Regions from separate parts of the Homo sapiens genome. Here all the other regions are linked to region 5. Evidence: promoter capture Hi-C in 16 types of primary human blood cells and fetal thymus (Javierre and others, 2016). All regions are on one chromosome and are shown on one strand. The core of a region is centred on a gene start or on the middle of the fragment in contact, and the rest is flanking DNA. Distances in the headings are between cores, read along the strand shown.

Region 1 (2,915 bases), core at 30-2,529, 190 kb before region 5:
CTCCTTCTGGCCCTGGCCTGAGTTGGGAAGGGCAGCCCAACTGGGTGGCAAGGCCCGGGTCCCAGTATCTTCAGGGGTCTCCCCCTCCTCCTTCTCCCCAGTGGACTTCGAGTGTCCGTTGACCTCTCTGGCAGAAGCCACAGAGGCCAGGGCTGGCAGTTTGGCTGAGGCCAAAGCCCCACCATGGTCGGGTCGGGGCTGCTTGGACTCACCCTGCCCAGGCCCCCCCTTGGCCCTGGGACCTCTGCGGTTGCTGCGTTTGGCGATCAGGTAGATGCGCAGGTAGACAAGGATCATGATGAGGCAAGGAGCAAAGAAAGATCCGATGCTGGAGGCCAGGATGTACCAGGCCTCCTGGTTGAGCTTGCACTGGGGGCGCCCGCGCGGCTGGGGGCCCTGGTCGCCCTTGTAGATGAGGGGCGGCAGCGAGATGACGGCGGCGATGAGCCACACAGTGAGGATGATGCACTTGATGCGGCGCGGGGTGCGCTTGGAGTTGTACTCCAGCGCGCGGCTCACGGCCCAGTAGCGGTCCAGGCTGATGGCGCACAGGTGCACGATGGACGAGGTGCAGAAGAGCACGTCGAGCGCCAGGTACACCTCGCACCACGTGCGCCGGAAGTACCAGTAGCCCAGCAGCTCGTTGGCCAGCGAGAAAGGGATGATGAGCGTGGCCACCAGGATGTCGGCGGCGGCCAGCGACACCAGGAACAGGTTCTGAGGGGCGCGCAGCGAGCGGCTGGTCAACACAGCCAGGATGACCAGAGCGTTGCCGAAGATGGTAAAGAGAATGAGGAAGGTGATGGCCGCCGCTATGGCCGCTGTGGCCTGCACGGAGTAGGGGTCCTGGTGGTCCATGACGGGGCGGGAGGTGGGCAGAGGGAGCGCTGCCCGCCCAGTGCGCACCGTGGACGACAGCGCTGCCCGGCTCGGCTAGACAAGAGCGTCGCCCCTCGGGCGGCGCCGAGGGCGCTGGAGCCCCATGGCCTGGACGAGCGGGGCCTAGGAGGTCGGGAACACCCAGGACCAGCAGCCGCCCTCCTACATCCTCCTCCACCGGTGCCCGGGGTCCCTGCCGTCCGCCCCAGAGAAGTTTCCCAAGTTGTCCCGCCGCCGTCCCCGTCCCGCCCGGGACCGGAGAAAGTCGCGCCCTCCCGCCACGCGGATGCCGTACGCTCTGGGGGCGCGGGCCGGGCTGGGCCGGTTCTTAAAGGAGGCGCGGAGGACCTTGCGCCCGCTCAGCTCGCAGGCTTTCGCCCCAGCCGCGCCTGCAGGGGAGTGGGGAGCGGGGAGAGCGGCTGGAGGAAGGCGGAGACTGGAGGCGGGCGCGGGAGCGGGCGGGAGGCGGGGCGGTGGGCGGACCGAGGTGGGCTGAAGGTGCGCTTCGCGGGAGGCGTGAGCCCGGGACTTCCCGCGCCCGGACCCCGCCCAGCGCCTCTACCTGCCTTCCTCCCGGCGGCCGCGCCTCGGGAGAGCGGAGGGGCCCGGCGGCCGGGGTCTCCGGCCCCCAGGCAGGACGCGCGCAGCTGTGGAGGGGTCGGTGGGTGCCGGGAGCCGGGACGCGGAGCTAGCGCGCGGGCCGGCACCGGGACGGGACACTTCTCCCGGGGGAACCGGGCTGGGCCCGGCGCCGGTGCGCCCTGCTCTGCCTTCCGCCGCTCGGGAGCCCGCAGGGAGGGCAGGGCGGGCGTGGGGCTGGGGCGCCGGGTCGCAATACACCACAACCCCGCCCGGCTCGGCCGTGGAGACGCCCTGCGGAGAGGTGGGGGAGCGGGGAGCGGGGAGCCGGTCCCGACCCTTTCCCAGGCGCTGCCCCTCGCGGACCAGCTCCGTCGGGCCAGCGCCGCGCGAGGAGGGCGCGTCCCGGCCTGCGAGCGCCCCCTGCTGCCGCCCGCGGGCCCAGCCCGTCAGCGGCAGCCCGGGTCCCGGAGCCAGCGCTCGCAGCCTGGGTCTTAGGACTTCGGCTTCTTGTGTCTCCGCAGCTGCCTCAGTTTCCTCCATTAAGGGCAAAGGAGGTAACAGGGAAACTGGCTTGGACTCGAATCACAGCATCAACTGCGATTCAGCCAAGGGTTTGTACGGGGCACAGGGCGAGCTGCCGCCCCTTGACTAATGCGAAGGGGAGGTCCCTTCCTTGCCGTGGGGGAGTAAAGGGTGGGGACTTTGTCACACAGCTCCGAGAAAAAGCAGGTCTCAGGGGCAGCCGTGAAGAGAGGAGCGTCCCTCCGCTTCTGTAGTGACCCCGGGGGAAGGGGTTGACCCTCCCTCCCTGCTGCGGTCCTGCCCCACATACACACTGAAGCCCTTCTGGGGGTGACAGTGGAAAGAGGGTTGGGGTAAAAAGAAACTTCAGACTAAGGCCCCCCACTCGCCTTCAAAGCGCTATGAGCAACTGTTCTCCCTCAGGGCCCCAACTCACTCTCCCTGCCACACCGCCACCAGCACCAGCCTGGGCAGCCCTGAGGGCATGTTTCCCCGGTTCTGGAGCCCCTAATGTCATAAGCCCCGCCTCGAGCCAGGCCTCTTATTCACAGCCCACGACTCTGCAAGGCATCCTCTGTATAAATAAGCACCAATCCACCTCTGACAGTGGGGCTCCCCCAGGCCCCGTCCAACCTGCTGGACCTCCTCTCCTCCCTGCTCCCTCCATGGGAGCAGAGCACGTGGCCTCTCAGTGCCCACGGACAATGTCTAGCGCCTCCCCAGGCTCAGGTGGGAGGTGCCCCGTCTCAGGTACCCAGACCAGCACCCCCAGCCACGGGGGTGTGTTGGGAGTAGGTGCCTCCTTGATCCCCCCATCCCTGTCATTCTGCCAGACTCCCCAGCTTCTGGTGAGGTGCAAGTGCCCACAGCCCATGGGGTGGATGCTGCCAGGGCTGGGTTCGGACAGGGCAATCAGCCTCCTTCCCACCCCC
Region 2 (2,729 bases), core at 74-2,573, 220 kb after region 5:
GCCACTGCTGCTAGGGGCACAGCATCCATTGGAGTTCCCTCCCCACCCCTAACTGCCCGAGGGCAGCAGATCCAGGGTTGCCCGGCCACCTCCCTCTCCTGACTGCAGTGTGGGAAGAAACGCAGGACGCTGGCAGGCACCAGACCGTGCCCCGCCCCTGATCCACAGTGTGGCTTTGAGCACACCACTTTCCCTCTCTGGGCCTTGGTTTTCCCATCTGTAAAATCAGGGCACAGTGAACTGTAAAGGGCTCGGAGGGAAATTTCATGGACTGGTTGATGATCCCAGGCTGCCGCCCTTTAGGAGAGGTCCTCCCTCCAGAGGGCTCTTGGACCTTGGGGATCCCAGGTGGGAGCCTTCATGGGAAGCGGAAGTGAGCCCTGAGACCTCTGCAGGCTTCTCTCCTACCTCTGAAAGACTGAGCAGGCAGCCTGGTGTCTCAGACACTCCTCATTTCCCTACTTCCCTTCAACAGGGTTAGAGTTCCTACGAAAGCTTTGCTGCCATGCAAGAAGGCAGAATGCTCTCCCACATGGAGACGCACCCAGACAGTCCACGGGACACATGTGTGCATAAGCCCGAGTGTGCTCAAGCCCCTCCATACCACTGGCATGGCACTATGGCACTCTAAGCAGGAGCTCAGAGGACTTCTGGGCCAGACCTAGGGCAGCCCTTGCCACTCCTGAGTGACAGACCTAAGTCTGGGTACCAGGGCAGTGAGGACTTCCAGAATGTACACAATATAGCAGGACCCACTCTGCTTCTTGTCCTTCCTCCAAGTGCCCACTCAGCATCTTAAAATGGAGATGTAGCCTGGTGCAGTGGCTCACGCCTATAATCCCAGCACTTTGGGAGGCCAAAGTGGGTGGATCACTTGAGCCCAGGAGTTCAAGACCAGTCTGGGCAACATAGCAAGATCCCACCTCCATAAAATTTTTTAAAAGATTAGACAGGCATGGTGGTGCATGCCTATGGTCGTGGCTGCCTGGGAGGCTGAAGTGCGAGAATCACCTAAGCCTAGGAGTCCAAGGCTGCAGTGAGCTGAGATTGCACCACTGCACTTCAGACTGACCCTGTCTCAAAAAAAAAAAAAAAAAAAAAACAGAGAGATGCTCCCAGCTTTCTTCCAGGAGCGAGGTATTCCCTTCATCCCTTGGGATTAACAGTCAATGCCACCCCCTCTAAGCCACTTATTGTGATATTGACATACTTCAGTGTCAGTACTAGGGACTGCTCCAAGTCCCAGCATGGCTGGGACCACCCTGGTGCCTTCCCCCTCTTCAGACTCCCCAGCAATGTGACAACTGAGTGGGGGGTGACACTAGGTCCTCTGGTAGGTCAGGAGCTGTAATGACCCAGTCCTGCCGGGCCACCCTGTAGCATCACGCTGTGGCAGGGAGGCAGGGATTGCAGGCACCTGAGTCCTCCTCACACGCTCAGCTGACCCCGCAGGTCCCTGACCTAGGCTGTGTTTGGTGCCTGTCCTTGCATATGGCGGGCAGCAGCCAGGCTTTGTGTGCAGCACTGTGTCACAGCCGTCTCGCTGTCTGCAGGACTGTTACCGGTGACAGCAGCTATGTGCCTGGCCCTTCTGGGAGCTCAGGAGGGTCCTGCTTACAGGGCGAATTTTGTGCTGAGACAGCTGAGAGGCCAGGTGTTCTGGGCGGCCCAGGAAAACCAGCCGTCAGCATCTCCTGCCCACACCTGTCCTGAGGTCAGAATGAACTTGAGTCCAGCAGGCTCCCAGAGCCAGAGAGCTTCTGCACCTGCAAAGCCCGGCTCCCTGCTTCAGACTGAAGGTGGGGACCTGAAGAGAATGCATACAGGCACCTCAGACTGGACACAGGGGTTGCGGGGGGAGCGGAGGGGAGCCCCTGGGCCCACCCCACCCACTCCACCCTGGCAATTCAGCTTGAAACAAATGATTAGCCTCTCTGTATAGATCCATGTTTCTCTCCTGGGCATGTCGGTTCGGTAAAACCCCGTTCATTTGGGCCTCACTGTGACCTCTAGGACGCTGGCCAAAGGGCAAGCGCCGCCAGGCCAAGGGGCCTGGGAGTGAAATCGTGGGTGAGGATAGGTGACAGGGGTGTTGAATCGGCCCGAGCGGTTCTTTCTTTTCGAGTTAATTTCGCATTGGTCTCTAGGATGCAAGCTTGTCCAACGCGTGGCCCAAGGGCGGCATGTGACTGAGGAAGGTTTTGAATGCGGCCCAAATTCATAAAGCTTTCTTAGAACACTGAGGTATTTTCGCGATTTTTTCTTTTAGCTCACCGGCTGTCGGTAGTGTTAGTGTATTTTACGTATGGTCCAAGACAATTCTTCAACTTCAAAAGACGGAACGCCCCTGCAATGGGACGCCAGACACCTCTAAGAGTGGGTGTAGGCCTCCAAAAGTGTCCACATGATACTTCCAGAAAAACTTCACATGCGGAGGTGTGCAGGAATGTGCGTGCTGCTAGAAAAGAGGCCTAAGGGGTCTGCCCAACGTCCTGAGAACCCGAGAGAGCAGGGCCCGCTGGGACAGGCAGGGGAAGGCCTCGGGAGGGACACGACGGTCCGGCAGCAGAGCCTGCGGGGCTGGAGGAGGCGCCCTCCTCTCAGCTGCTCTTCCTGCCCCTTTCGGTGGCGAAGATGGATGGGGCCCGGGGCTTTCGGCGGGGCCCGAGGGGCCGGCGAGGCTGCGGCCCTGGAGCCCCCTGCCTGGCAGCCATTTGGGCCCCAGGGAA
Region 3 (2,706 bases), core at 184-2,683, 210 kb before region 5:
GTCCCTCCACAACAGCACCTCTACACCGGCACTACCTGTGATCCAGAGCATGTTCGAGGGAGTGAGGAAGAAACGTGAGGGGGAAATGGGGCCTCATGGTCCAGCCGGGGCTCCTCTTCCCAGACTTACCTGGGCACTGGCAGTGGCCTCGAGCGGCAGGCTGGGTCCTCTTTCCCAGCCACGCCAGGCTTGGCCCCATGCCCAGCTCCCCTCCAGTCCTTTCACAGGCCCAGGTCACAGCTGAGTCGGAACCATAGGTCCAGGGGTACAAGCTTTCCGCACCTGGGCCAGGTGCCACCTCCCTTCCTTCCTCCGCCCCCTGCCTCCTGTGGGTGGCTCCCTACAAGCCTTTAGGTGTCTCGCTCCCACCCCACGCTGCACAGGGACAAATGAGGGAGCCCACACACTCCTGACCCCCTGCACCTGGGAGGAAGCAAAGACGGAGGGTGGAGGGTGGAGGGTGAGCAGGAGGGAGAGCCAAGCAAGGCTGCTGTCGGCACCACCCCCAGGCTGGCTTGTGTCCAGCACTGGCCATGAGAGTCCCTTGCTCTCTGGCGGCCTCTGTTCTCATTCGGCTGTCCTCAGCTGCATCTGGTCAGCAGCTAGCAGGGGCTGCAGCGTGGCAGGTGGAGAACTGCGAGGGGCCCTGGTGCGGATTCCAGGCCTCACCTGAGTCCTGCTTGGTGCCATTTGTCTTGACAACTGCTGACACTGAGTCTCCGAGACAGAAAAACAGGCAGAAAAGGGAACTGCGGCAGAAGGGGCTCCTGAGAGAGGGGCTGTGGCAGGGCAGGGGCTCGAGTGTGCTCTGGGCCAGGGAACCTGCTCCTGAGAGTCTGGGAGACTTTTCCATTTTCCAACGCGGTTTCACATTCAGGGCCTCAGTCCGCCTCACAGCACCAGCCCCGGCCTGAGACAGGCAGGCTCAGCCTCGCTAACAAATGAAAGAGCCACTTATGGGCCCTGTTTTGTGCCGGGCTTTGCACTGGCTGCATGTGGGACCCAGTCCAGGGAGAGGCAGACAGATAGATAACTGAGAATGGTGCCGCAAGGGAAGTGCTCCAGCTGGTGTGTCCCCAGGCTGCAAGTCCCAGGCCCAGGAGGAGAGTGGAAGCTGGGGGCTCAGAAAGGCCTCCTAGAGCAGTGAGCCTAGAAGGAGGCCCAGAATGCAGCCGGCTGGGAAGAAAAGGCCAGGATAGGGAAGAGACATGCAAAGGCCTAGAAATTGCAAAATAGCTTTAAGTACTGAGGGCTTACTAAGGGCCAGGTGCCTGATGGTCCATCTTTCCCAACATTTTTCAACGTAGGCATTATTATCTCATTTCACAGACGAGAAAAGTGGTCTCATGTTACACCACTTGCACACCGTTACTCCTAAGGTTTTTGTGAGTCAGAGTAAGCGAACTGCTAGAACAAAGAATCCCAGATCTCTGCAGCTGAGCACAGGCTGATTTCTTGCTCATGTCACAGTCTAGGGTGAATCCAAGTGGTGATTCAGGGACCCAGGCTCTATTTATTCTCTAGTGCTACCATCTTTAGCTTGTGGCCTGCATGCTTGCAACAAAAGGGAAACTGAGTAAAGGATCCTGCTTGGGAGACTTTCATGGGCCAAGTGGATGTGGCGTACGTCTCTCTTCCACCCCCTTTCCATTGGCCCAACTCATGCCTAGATCAAGGGGGCTGGGAAATGTGGTCTCAGGGTGGTCAGGAAGAGGGGGACACCAGGAAGAGGGGGACACCCAGGATGTCAGGGGACTCTGGATGGTACATCCCTGAGCAGCTGATCCTGGGCCTGTGTCCTTAGCCAGAGGCTACTGCCCTTCATGCACCAGGGAGGAACTGGGCACCCTGGGGAATGGCAAGTAACTGGGGTGGCGCCTGGACTTTGTCCTGTGGGCAGCCAGGAGCCACCAACAGGCTTTCAGGAGGGAAGTGCCCTGGGCAAGCCTGGGTTGCAGAGAGATAAGACTGCCGAGGAGAGAGCGTCGGGGAGGCAGGGGCGAGGTGACCAGGCCTGCAGTTCTTGTGAGCAGCCCAGAGCCCTTGGGGACCCCAGGCTGAGTCTCTGGACCCCTGCTCCAGCGCTCATCCTCCTCCTTCCCAGCCCATCATGAAATCCTGGCCACCCAAGCCTCAGCCATGCCTTCCCAACAGGGACAATAGGCAGGACACCCAGCTCCGCCCCAGAATGCAGCTGAGGGGAAGGCCGAGGGGAAGGCAGCGGAGGGCAGACGTGAGGCTATAATTCTATTGCCAGCTTCTGGGAGCCAGCAGGGGCAGAGGCACGGATAACCACATTTGGTTCATTGCAGGCGCCGGGGACATCACTCAGGCCCGGCAAGGAGCCAGTCATCCAGACTGCATGTGCCCTGCAGGGAAACCGTCTCCCAGCAGCCTCGTTAGGGTAGGGGCTTGAACAGGAGACCGAGGGCAGACCTCGGCAGGGCCATTTGAGAGGCTGGGAGGCTGGCAGCTTCTGAGAACCACTGCCAGGAGCTGGTCCCTGACTCTAAACCCCCTCTCCTGGAGCCATGGGTCGGTCGCACGGGGCAGTGTGAAAGGAGCCAGGTGGTGGGGGTGGTGCCCTCCCCAGGGGAAGCTTGGTGAGGCAGGCAGGGAATCGGGCCCTGGATCTTGGCTTCCTTAGCTGGAGCGGAGAGGCGTTTCCTGACGTATGGGAACACCTGGTGTGCAGTTACACGCTGG
Region 4 (2,949 bases), core at 399-2,898, 240 kb after region 5:
ATATTATTGTTCATTGACAAGGCAACCGGTCATGCAAGAGCGCTGATGAAAATGTACCAGGAGCTGCATGTTGTTTTCATGCCTACTAGCACAACATTTATTCTAGAGCCAAGGATCAAGGAGTAATTTTAAGTTTCAAGTCTTATTATTTAAGAAATACATTTTGTAAGACTGTAGCTGCCATAGATAGTGATTCCTCTGATGGGCAAAATACATTGAAAACCTCCGGAGAGCATTTCAGGTACATTTGTGGTTCGTGGGAGGAGGTCAAAATATCCAAGCATTTGGGAGAATTTGATTCCAACCTTCCTGGATGACTTTGAGGGCTTCAAGACTTCAGTGGAGAAGACACTGCAGATGCAGTGGAACCAGCAAGAGAACTAGAGTTAGAAAGCAGAGCTTGAGGATGAGACTGAATTGCTGCAATCTCATGATCAAACTTGAGTGGATGAGGAGTTGCTTTTTATGGGTGGGCAAAGAAAGTGACTTTTTTTCTTCTTTTTTTTTCTTTCCTTTTCTTTTCTTTTTCTTTTTCTTTTTTTTTTTTTTTTTTGAGACAGAGTCTTGTTCCATCGCCCAGACTGGAGTACAGTGGAGTAATCTCAGCTCACTGCAGCCTCCGCCTCCTAGGTTCAAAGGATTCTCCTGCCTCAGCCTCCTGAGTTGCTGGGACTACTGGGACCTGCCACCACACCCAGCTGACTTTTGTGTTTTTAGTAGAGACAGGGTTTCGCCACGTTGGCCAGGCTGGTCTCAAACTTCTGACCTCAGGTGATCCACCCACCTTGGCCCCCAAAGTGCTGGGATTACAGGCGTGAGCCACCGCGCCCATCCTAAAGTGGCTTCTTGAGGTGGAATCTACTGGCGAAGATGCTGTGAACATTGTCAAAATGACAACAAAGGATTTAGAATGTTACAGAAACTTAGTTGATAAAGCAGCAGCAGGGTTTGAGAGGAGGGACATCAGTTTTGAAAGTTTTGCTGTGGATAAAATGCTGTCAAAAATAGCATCACATGCATGCCATGGAGAAGTCTTTCATGAAAGGAAGAGTTGCCAGGTGCAGTGGCTCATGCCTGTAATCCCAGCACTTTGGGAGGCCGAGGTGGGTGGATCATGAGGTCAGGAGTTTGAGACCAGTCTGGCCAATATGGTGAAACCCCGTCTCTACTAAAAATACAAAAATTAGCCGGGCTTAGTGGCACGCACCTGTAGTCCCAGCTACTCGGGAGGCTGAGGCAGGAGAATCACTTGAACCTGGGAGGCGAAGATTGCAGTGAGCCAAGATCACGCCACTGCACTCCAGCCTGGGCAACAGAGCAAGATTCTGACTCAAAAAAAAAAAAAGAGTTAATGGATGTGGCAAACTTCATTGTTGTCTTATTTTAAGAAATTGCCACAGTCACCCCAGCCCAAGAAACCACCACCCTGAAATCAGTCAGCAGCCATCAACATGGAGGGAAGACATAAGAACACCTACCAAAGCAGGACCACTCAGTGGCCAAGGATTCTACCCTGTGCCTCTGAGTACCACTGGCCCCTGGCTTACGCTGGTTTGGGTTTCTTGTTCCTGAGGAGATTCTTTTTCTGTCTGGGATGGAAGGGAAATCTCATAGGTTCCTAACAATAAGGATGTCCTGGGAGGGAGTGAACCAATTCATACTTGATTAACAAAAGAACAAAGGACAGAAAGAAAAGGTTGTCAGAAGATGTGGGTTCCTGGTCTGGTATCTGCTGCCAGCCTGCTGTGTGGCCTCAGGCAGTTTCCAGTGGTTGTGGTTTTTGCAGTGGCAGAGGTGTTGCGTTTTTGCAACCATCAGCACATGGTGGTTCTTAGTAAAATACAGCCCATGGCTTCTCCTGCCCACCACGCAGGGTTGTTGTGAGCCTTGCTCATTCCAGCTTGGCACCTGCTGTGTGGGGTATGGGAAGCCTCACCGAACTATCAGGGAGCCCCAGGAGCCACAGGCAGTTCAGCCAGGATGGCTGTGAGTAGCCTAGGGCGAGGGAGGAGCTGCCCGTGGCCAGGGGCCAGAGGAGGCCACCCAGAGGAAGGCACTTGTCAGCAGAGACCTGAGGGGTCACCAGGACCCTTGTAGGTGAGGAGAGCATGTGGCCTTATTAGGGCAGTTAGAACTCTGCAGATGCTCAGGGAAAGGTCAGATATTCCTGAATATTCCCAGAGGAACTACTACCCAGGGACCCCTGTGTTGCTTTGGGGCCACAGCCATGGGATCCTTTAGCTCTCCAGTGAGACTAAGCTGCTTCTCAACTCTGTGTCTGAGCATGGGGCAGATTTTGGAGACAGGATTTCCCCAAGCACCACAGCCCAACCCCGGCCTCCTGTGACTTGACCTCAAGGTGGTTTTGCGTTTCCTTCAAAGATGTGGGGAGATAGTTGGAGCAGAGGAAAGAAAAGGGACAGGTGTGGAGCGGATGCAGCGGGTTGTCGGGGAGCGGGGAGGAGGGCCTGTGTGTGTGTGTGCATGTAGCCTATGTGCAGCCAGGGACACACCCCTTCCCCCTGGCCAATTCTTTTTTTTTTTTTAATAATAGAGACGGGGTCTCACTACGTTGCCCAGACAGGTCTTGAACTCCTGACCTCAGGTCATCGCCTGCCTGGGCCTCCCAAAGTGCTGGGATCACAGGAGTGAGCCCCTGCACTGGCGCCCTCTGGCAACTCCAATTGGGAGTAGGGAGAGTGCTCCTGTTCCTCCCTGCTTGCATCTCATATGCTCTCTCCCCACCCCTTCCTCCTTACTCCTTCCCTCTCTCCTTGCAGCAGCCCCTGTCAAAGGGAACAGGAAGCAGTCCACGGAGGGTGACGCCCTAGACCCACCTGCATCCCCCAAACCTGCTGGCAAGCAGAACGGAATCCAGAACCCCATCTCGCTGGAGGTGAGTTGACTCCCTCTGCTGACTCCCTGGGCACTCTTCCCTGCCACCCTCAC
Region 5 (2,861 bases), core at 37-2,536:
TAAAGGAAAAAAATGCAAACTAAGAAAGAAACCTGTCTTTCATACTATGGATGCTTAAATTAGTTTGTTACAACAAAATAGGTAGAACGTGGACAAGAGTAAATGGAAAAAGTAGGGGTAGGAAGTTAGTAATGGGAAAAAAGGAAAACGAATTACTGGGACATAGGAATAGCAAGGGTCTTGAAAATACCCTGAAGAAAATTAAGATCTGTCTATGGACCAGAAACACACATGTAAGAAAAAGGTACCAACAAGTTATTTTCCACTTGAGATGCACTTGTTAAGGCCAAAAAATCTTTAAACTCTCCTGGTCTGTTTTTACCTTCACTGAATTGTTTTAATGCCACTGATCTTACACCAAGCATTCCAGCAAAAATGCTGCTCGAATGTTAAAGGGAAGAGACTTTGGATCTGAAGGAAAAAATAGTATCCCCTTGGCACTCACTTGGCTCTTCTTTCCTCCTGCATCTGCGGTTTGGTCCGTTGAGCCTTGTCTCCCATACGGGTGCCCTCCAGCTTCCCAACAAGGGACAGCACCTCTCCTGTGGGTTCATCCCGGCGGGTCCGGTCAATGAGAGAACGGTCAGCTTGGAGCACAAGATTCGAGTTCTGAAAAGATCAAAACATTATTGAAGCTTTGACATGAGCAGGGCCAATTCCTACTATCATAGTTACCCCAGCTGATGGAAAAAATCGTAGTAACTAGTTGCTTATCATCACTAATCGTAATAAAAATATATTTTCCTTAAGAATTGCATAGTATAACGCTGTGCAGAAGCGTACAGCTGAATAAGTCTTATGCGCTGTCGAATCAGCTAAACAATTCTTGTTCCTAACAGCGCCCATCATAACCCACACCTGTGAAAAGTAGTGAGTGGGTTGGGAGTGACGTGTGGAAGGGGGAGGGCTTAGCGTTGAAGGTACTCGAGAAACTCCTCCTAGAGAGATCTTAGCGCTCCCCAGACCCCAGTAGGTTATTCACGTCATCGTATAACCCCCACCTTCACCCCGATTCCATTTCCCCTTCGTTTTCGTGGCTCTCCTGTAGGCCTTCAGACTGAAACTCCCTTTTTCAGCCTCCCCCTCCCCATTGGACTCCTGAGCCTGGAATCCTTCCCCAAGACCAAACGCACCGCCTTGTACTCGTATTGCAGACTACGGGCGGTTACATCCGCCATGGCCGCGGCTGCTCGGAGGCTTCAGACCACCACGCCTCCCTACCGCAAGCTGCAAACGGCCGCAGATCTCTGCTCCCGCCGCGCCGGAACGACGCAGGAAAGACGCACTGGGGAAGGAAAAGAAACGGGTTCCCTTCCGCTTCCGGGTCGCGCCCCAGAAGTGCGGGGCGGGGCGTGTCTGGGGCGTGTCCCTGCCGTGTGCGCGCGGCTTTCCGCACCCTTCTGAGCGGGATATGTGGGCCTGGTGCGTCTGGGTCCCCGAATCCCTAGACCCCCGCACTCTGGTTCTGGCCGCCCGCTGGCACTAAGGACCCAGGGCCCGTGCTCTCCCCGACCTCAGTCTCCAGCCCCCGGCACCCCTCACATCATAACGAATGCACGGCTGCTTAGCCCCTGTCCTGTCCCAAGACCTTTCCTTCCGGTTCCTTCCTCTTTGGCAACAGTCCCATGAGGTAGGCAGGAAAAGAGGGGCCGAAAACCCCATTTCCGTTTGAGGTAACTAAAGTACCCAGCGAGCAAGGTGACTTGCGCGTGTGTCTGTGTTTGTGTGTTTTAATGATTGGCGCCTTGCTTTGGGTTTCTCTTCTGTGTTCAACAATTGAAAAAGAAAGCTACTATCCCCCACCAATCCCACCTAAACCTGTGCCCCCAAGACCCTCGTTTTCACCCAGCTGAACGAACAGGGCCGGGGCCCCCATTTGCTCCCACTTGTCGGTAACATTCTATGGTAGGGCCCTCCCTGCCGCCCAGGGAAACCGGTGAAGGCAGGGCCAAATCCTTGGTGACTATGACTTAATTTCTTCCCCAGCTACAAAGTCTTCTCTGTCCCACATTCCCCACCACTTCTCGCCAGTAGAATGGCGCCTTATGGCTGAAGGTGACCTCCCTCCTCACTTAGAGCATGTTTGCTTTTGAGAAGATGAATGAACAGGAGGATGGGTGTTAAGCCAAAGGAATTCATCCTCAATAGCAGTCCCCTAGACCAGATTTGTTCTGTAGTGGTATCGTGTTTGGCTCACTGTTGGCTCCTTCTTTAAAAATTGGGATAATTTCATGCAAACTCTGGCTCTCCCCCATCAGTTGAGATACTAGAAAATCAGCCACATGACACCCACACTGCTGCATGGCATGACCTGCTGCTGGTCAGCAGCTGCCAAGGTCAGAGAATAGGCAAGTCCTTCCCACTGCTCCTGTTTTCTCATGCCTGCCCATCTCCTTATTTTTACTTGCCCAGCCCCTGTAGGCATGGAGTTTGCTGCTTTGGTGGGTGTTTGTTTTTTTTTTAATAACTCGTCTTCCCAAGGGACAGTCGAGTCCTCATGGCTCTGCTCCTCAGTGGCTGTGTGACTTTGAAGTAGCTAGCTACCTGGCCTCTCGGTGAGCACCATTTTCCTCATCCTTAAAATTGAGGCAATTGGCTGGACACGCTGGCTCACGCCTGTAATCCCAGCACTCTGGGAGGCCAAGGCAGGCGGATCACTTGAGGTCAGGAGTTTGAGACCAGCCTGGCCCACATGGTGAAACCCTGTCACTACTAAAAATACAAAAATTAGCCAGGCGTGGTAGTGGGTGCCTGTAATCCCAGCTACTCAGGAGGCTGAGGCAGGAGAATCACTTGAACCTGGGAGGTGGAGGTTGCAGTGAGCCGAGATCAAACTCTGCACTCCAGCCTGGATGACAGAG
Region 6 (2,896 bases), core at 397-2,896, 150 kb before region 5:
TAATTAAAATAATGAAGGAACAACAGACTCATGAGGGCAGGCAAGTGGGCTGGCCTCCCAGCACAGGGGGCAGCCCCCACCTATAGGGAGACCCCAGAAGAAGCTTTTCTTCTGTCCCCCAGCCTCTCTCCAGGCATAGGGCTCTTCCTGGCCCCTCTGCCCATGTGTAAGCTTCTCTCACAGCCGAGGACAAAGCCTTCCCCAGGACCCTCCTGCTCTGGCACCTCTCAGCCTCCTGGCCCTTGACTCCTCAACTTTGGATCCTGTGGGGCAAGAGAGGGCAGTCAGGGAGAGCAGAGGCCCCATGGTTGTCAATTCAGGGGGAGCGTCACAGACAGTGCCCCCCTGCCCCACCTAGCTGGGCCCCTTCCTCGTGCATCTCCGGGCTGCTTATGCTAAGAGAACCTTCCTCCTTTCCCTGATCGGCAGCCCCTTCTGTAGGCTCCATGCAGCAGGTGCTGGGACAGAAGAAATCCATGCTGGTGCACTGCAGCCGTCTGCTCCCGAGAGGGCCGCCTCGGGACCTGCTGCCCAGCACGGGCTCGGGCAAGGCTTGCTGAGAGGCTCAGGGCACGGGGGATCCAGGAGTCCAAGGTGGACCCAGGGGGCCTGGCCGCCTGCACAGCCCCTTCTTGTCCTAGCTTGGCAGGAGGCCCTCAGACCCTGGCCAGTGAGGTCCAGAGAGTCTGCACTGGGACAGCCCAGTCACATCAGCGGCAAGAAGAGTCGCGAGAGAGCCAGGAGCTGGGTCACGAGAGGGTGTTGCTGACTGTTTTTGGCCCCAGCCCCTTCTTGCCCCTTCAATAAACTTCTCCTCCTCCACCCTGGAATTTCCCCAGGAGGATCACACACATTAGAGGGGCGCTGCCCAGAACTAAGACCTCCGTGAGACTCAGCCATTCAACACATATTTGTGGAGCAGCTCTTATGCGCCAGGCACCGCTCTGGGCTCTGGGAATGCAGTGGCTTTGCTGGTTACTCTCTGTCCCCTTCCCCTTCCCAGACCCGTTCTCCTCCCTGCTCTGGGCCCACAGGCTGCCATGCACGGACAGTCAGGTGGGATCTCTCACTCTCTGCTTCCTGACTACTCAGCCAGAAGGCACCAGGAGGCGAAGTGGGGAAAGAGTCTCGAGGACTTCTATCCCTGCTCCTCCTCTGCCCTGACACCAAGGTGTGGGCCGGGCTGGGTCCCTCTGGGACTCCCGTTCCCATAGCTCGGCCCCTCTTCACAGCCCTCGCTGTCCCAGACTCTGACAACATCTTCCCTCTCCTTGTTCTCCCAGCCCAAAAAAGAAGAATGGCCTTGTGGTACAGTGCAAAAATGACTACAACATTTTGACGCTCTTCTATCAAGAGGTGGAGTCCAATTCTCCACAACACATCAAGGACACAGGACAGCCCAGCCTGTGGCACAGGTGCTTTCTCACACATCCTGCCCAGACGCCCACGGTTCCTGGTACTGTGTGTTTGCCCTCGCTGCAAATATGCCCGATTTGTTCAACTACAGCTGTGTTCCTCGTGGTCTTTGGCTGGAGGGAGTTGAGAGACCCCACCTCTATCCTGGTTCCAGCCTCGCCCCTCCTCCTGTAGCATCCAGAATGAACTTTCTAAGTTTCTAAATTGCTCTGCTGGAAACCTTTCAGTGGCACCCAGGTATGTCGGTAGCAGTTCGATTTGGCTGACAGGACAGTGGCCCAGGGTTAAGTGGGGACTAGGAGCTCAGGCTGGTATGCAGGCTCTCCTCCCCAGAACTCCCAGCATATAAAAACTATAAAAACCCTAGAAGAAAACCTAGGAAATACCATTCTGGACACAAGCCCTGGCAGAGACTCCAAAAGCAATTGGAACAAAACCAAAAATTAACAAATGGGACCTAATTAAACTAAACAGCTTCTACACAGCAAAAGAAACCATCAACAGAGTAAACAGGCAACCTACAGAACAAGAGAAAATATTTGCAAACAATGCATCCAACAAAGTTCTAATATCCAGAATCTATAAGGAACTTAAATTAACAAGCAAAAAACAACCCCATTTAAAAAATGGACAAAGGGCTGGGTACAATGGCTCATGCCTGTAATCCAGCACTTTTGGAGGCCAAAGCAGGCAGACCACTTGAGGTCAGGAGTTCAAGAGACCAGCCTGGCCAATATGTGAAACCCTGTCTCTACTAAAAATACAAAAATTAGCCAGCTGTGGTGGCTCGCGCCTGTAGCCCCAGCTAGCTACTTGGGAGGCTGAGGCAGGAGAATCACTTCAACCCAGAAGGCAGAGGTTGCAGTGAGCCGAGACCTCGCCACTGCACTCTAGCCTGGGTGACAGAGCAAGACTCTCTCTCAAAAAAATAAAAAATAAAAATAATAAAAATGGGCAAAGGCCATGAACAGACACTTCTCAAAAGAAGACATACATATGGCCAACAAGCATATGAATAAAATGGTCAGTATCACTAATTATTAGAGAAAGGCAAATCGAAACCACAATGAGATAACAATTCACACCAGTCAGAATGGCTACTATTAAAAAGTCAAAAAATAACAGATGCTGGAGAGGTTGTAGAGAAAAGAGAACACTTCCATGCTGCCAGTGGGAATGTAAATTAGTTCAGCCACTGTAGAAAGCAGTTTGGAGATTTCTCCAAGAACTTAAAGCAGAACTATCATTTGACCCAGCAATTCATTACTGAGTATGTACCCAAAGGAACATAAATCATTCTACCACAAAGACACATGCACGTGAATGCTCATTACAGCACTATGCACAACAGCAAGGAGGAGGAATAAACCTAAATGCCCATCAACGGTGGACTGGATAAAGAAAATGTGGTGCATATATACCATGGAAGATTACACAGCCATAAAAAAGGAGATCAAGTCCTTTGCAGCAACACGGATGG

Evidence for each region. The method cuts DNA at HindIII sites, captures the fragments that hold promoters and counts their contacts. A CHiCAGO score of 5 or more calls a contact.
Region 1: a contact is called between the fragment with the promoter of ADRA2B here and the fragment with the promoter of SNRNP200 in region 5, in 9 of 17 cell types (fetal thymus, M0 macrophages, M1 macrophages and 6 more). The highest score is 7.3, in fetal thymus.
Region 2: a fragment that was not itself captured here is called in contact with the fragment with the promoter of SNRNP200 in region 5 in 7 of 17 cell types (activated CD4 T cells, naive CD8 T cells, naive CD4 T cells and 4 more); the score reaches 8.7 in activated CD4 T cells.
Region 3: a fragment that was not itself captured here is called in contact with the fragment with the promoter of SNRNP200 in region 5 in 1 of 17 cell types (neutrophils); the score reaches 5.0 in neutrophils.
Region 4: a fragment that was not itself captured here is called in contact with the fragment with the promoter of SNRNP200 in region 5 in 5 of 17 cell types (naive CD8 T cells, monocytes, total CD8 T cells and 2 more); the score reaches 7.1 in naive CD8 T cells.
Region 6: a contact is called between a fragment that was not itself captured here and the fragment with the promoter of SNRNP200 in region 5, in 1 of 17 cell types (erythroblasts). The highest score is 5.8, in erythroblasts.

What each region holds. Positions count from the first base shown.
Region 1 is chr2:96,115,292-96,118,206 of GRCh38, forward strand. ADRA2B (adrenoceptor alpha 2B) reads right to left here and starts at 1,280. Exons shown (of 1, transcript NM_000682.7): 1 at 1-1,280. The coding sequence starts at 858. RefSeq lists silencers at 1,180-1,269, 1,370-1,529, 1,540-1,999, 2,040-2,109. The HindIII fragment of the contact is 8,066 bases long and covers 1-2,915 here.
Region 2 is chr2:96,524,753-96,527,481 of GRCh38, forward strand. No RefSeq gene overlaps it. Among named protein-coding and RNA genes, the nearest start is that of ARID5A, 11 kb to the right of the region's middle. RefSeq lists an enhancer at 1-115 and a silencer at 2,448-2,729. The HindIII fragment of the contact is 1,660 bases long and covers 494-2,153 here.
Region 3 is chr2:96,089,352-96,092,057 of GRCh38, forward strand. No RefSeq gene overlaps it. Among named protein-coding and RNA genes, the nearest start is that of ADRA2B, 26 kb to the right of the region's middle. The HindIII fragment of the contact is 2,327 bases long and covers 271-2,597 here.
Region 4 is chr2:96,544,622-96,547,570 of GRCh38, forward strand. ARID5A (AT-rich interaction domain 5A) reads left to right here. Exons shown (of 7, transcript NM_212481.3): 2 at 2,781-2,896. Among named protein-coding and RNA genes, the nearest start is that of ARID5A, 9.3 kb to the left of the region's middle. The HindIII fragment of the contact is 8,360 bases long and covers 1-2,949 here.
Region 5 is chr2:96,304,260-96,307,120 of GRCh38, forward strand. It overlaps SNRNP200 (small nuclear ribonucleoprotein U5 subunit 200), which reads right to left and starts at 1,287. Exons shown (of 45, transcript NM_014014.5): 1 at 1,134-1,287; 2 at 446-609. The coding sequence starts at 1,178. RefSeq lists enhancers at 1,152-1,446, 1,696-1,775, 2,368-2,861. The HindIII fragment of the contact is 15,934 bases long and covers 634-2,861 here.
Region 6 is chr2:96,158,177-96,161,072 of GRCh38, forward strand. No RefSeq gene overlaps it. Among named protein-coding and RNA genes, the nearest start is that of DUSP2, 14 kb to the left of the region's middle. RefSeq lists enhancers at 1-8, 1-134, 295-434, 443-980. The HindIII fragment of the contact is 2,954 bases long and covers 170-2,896 here.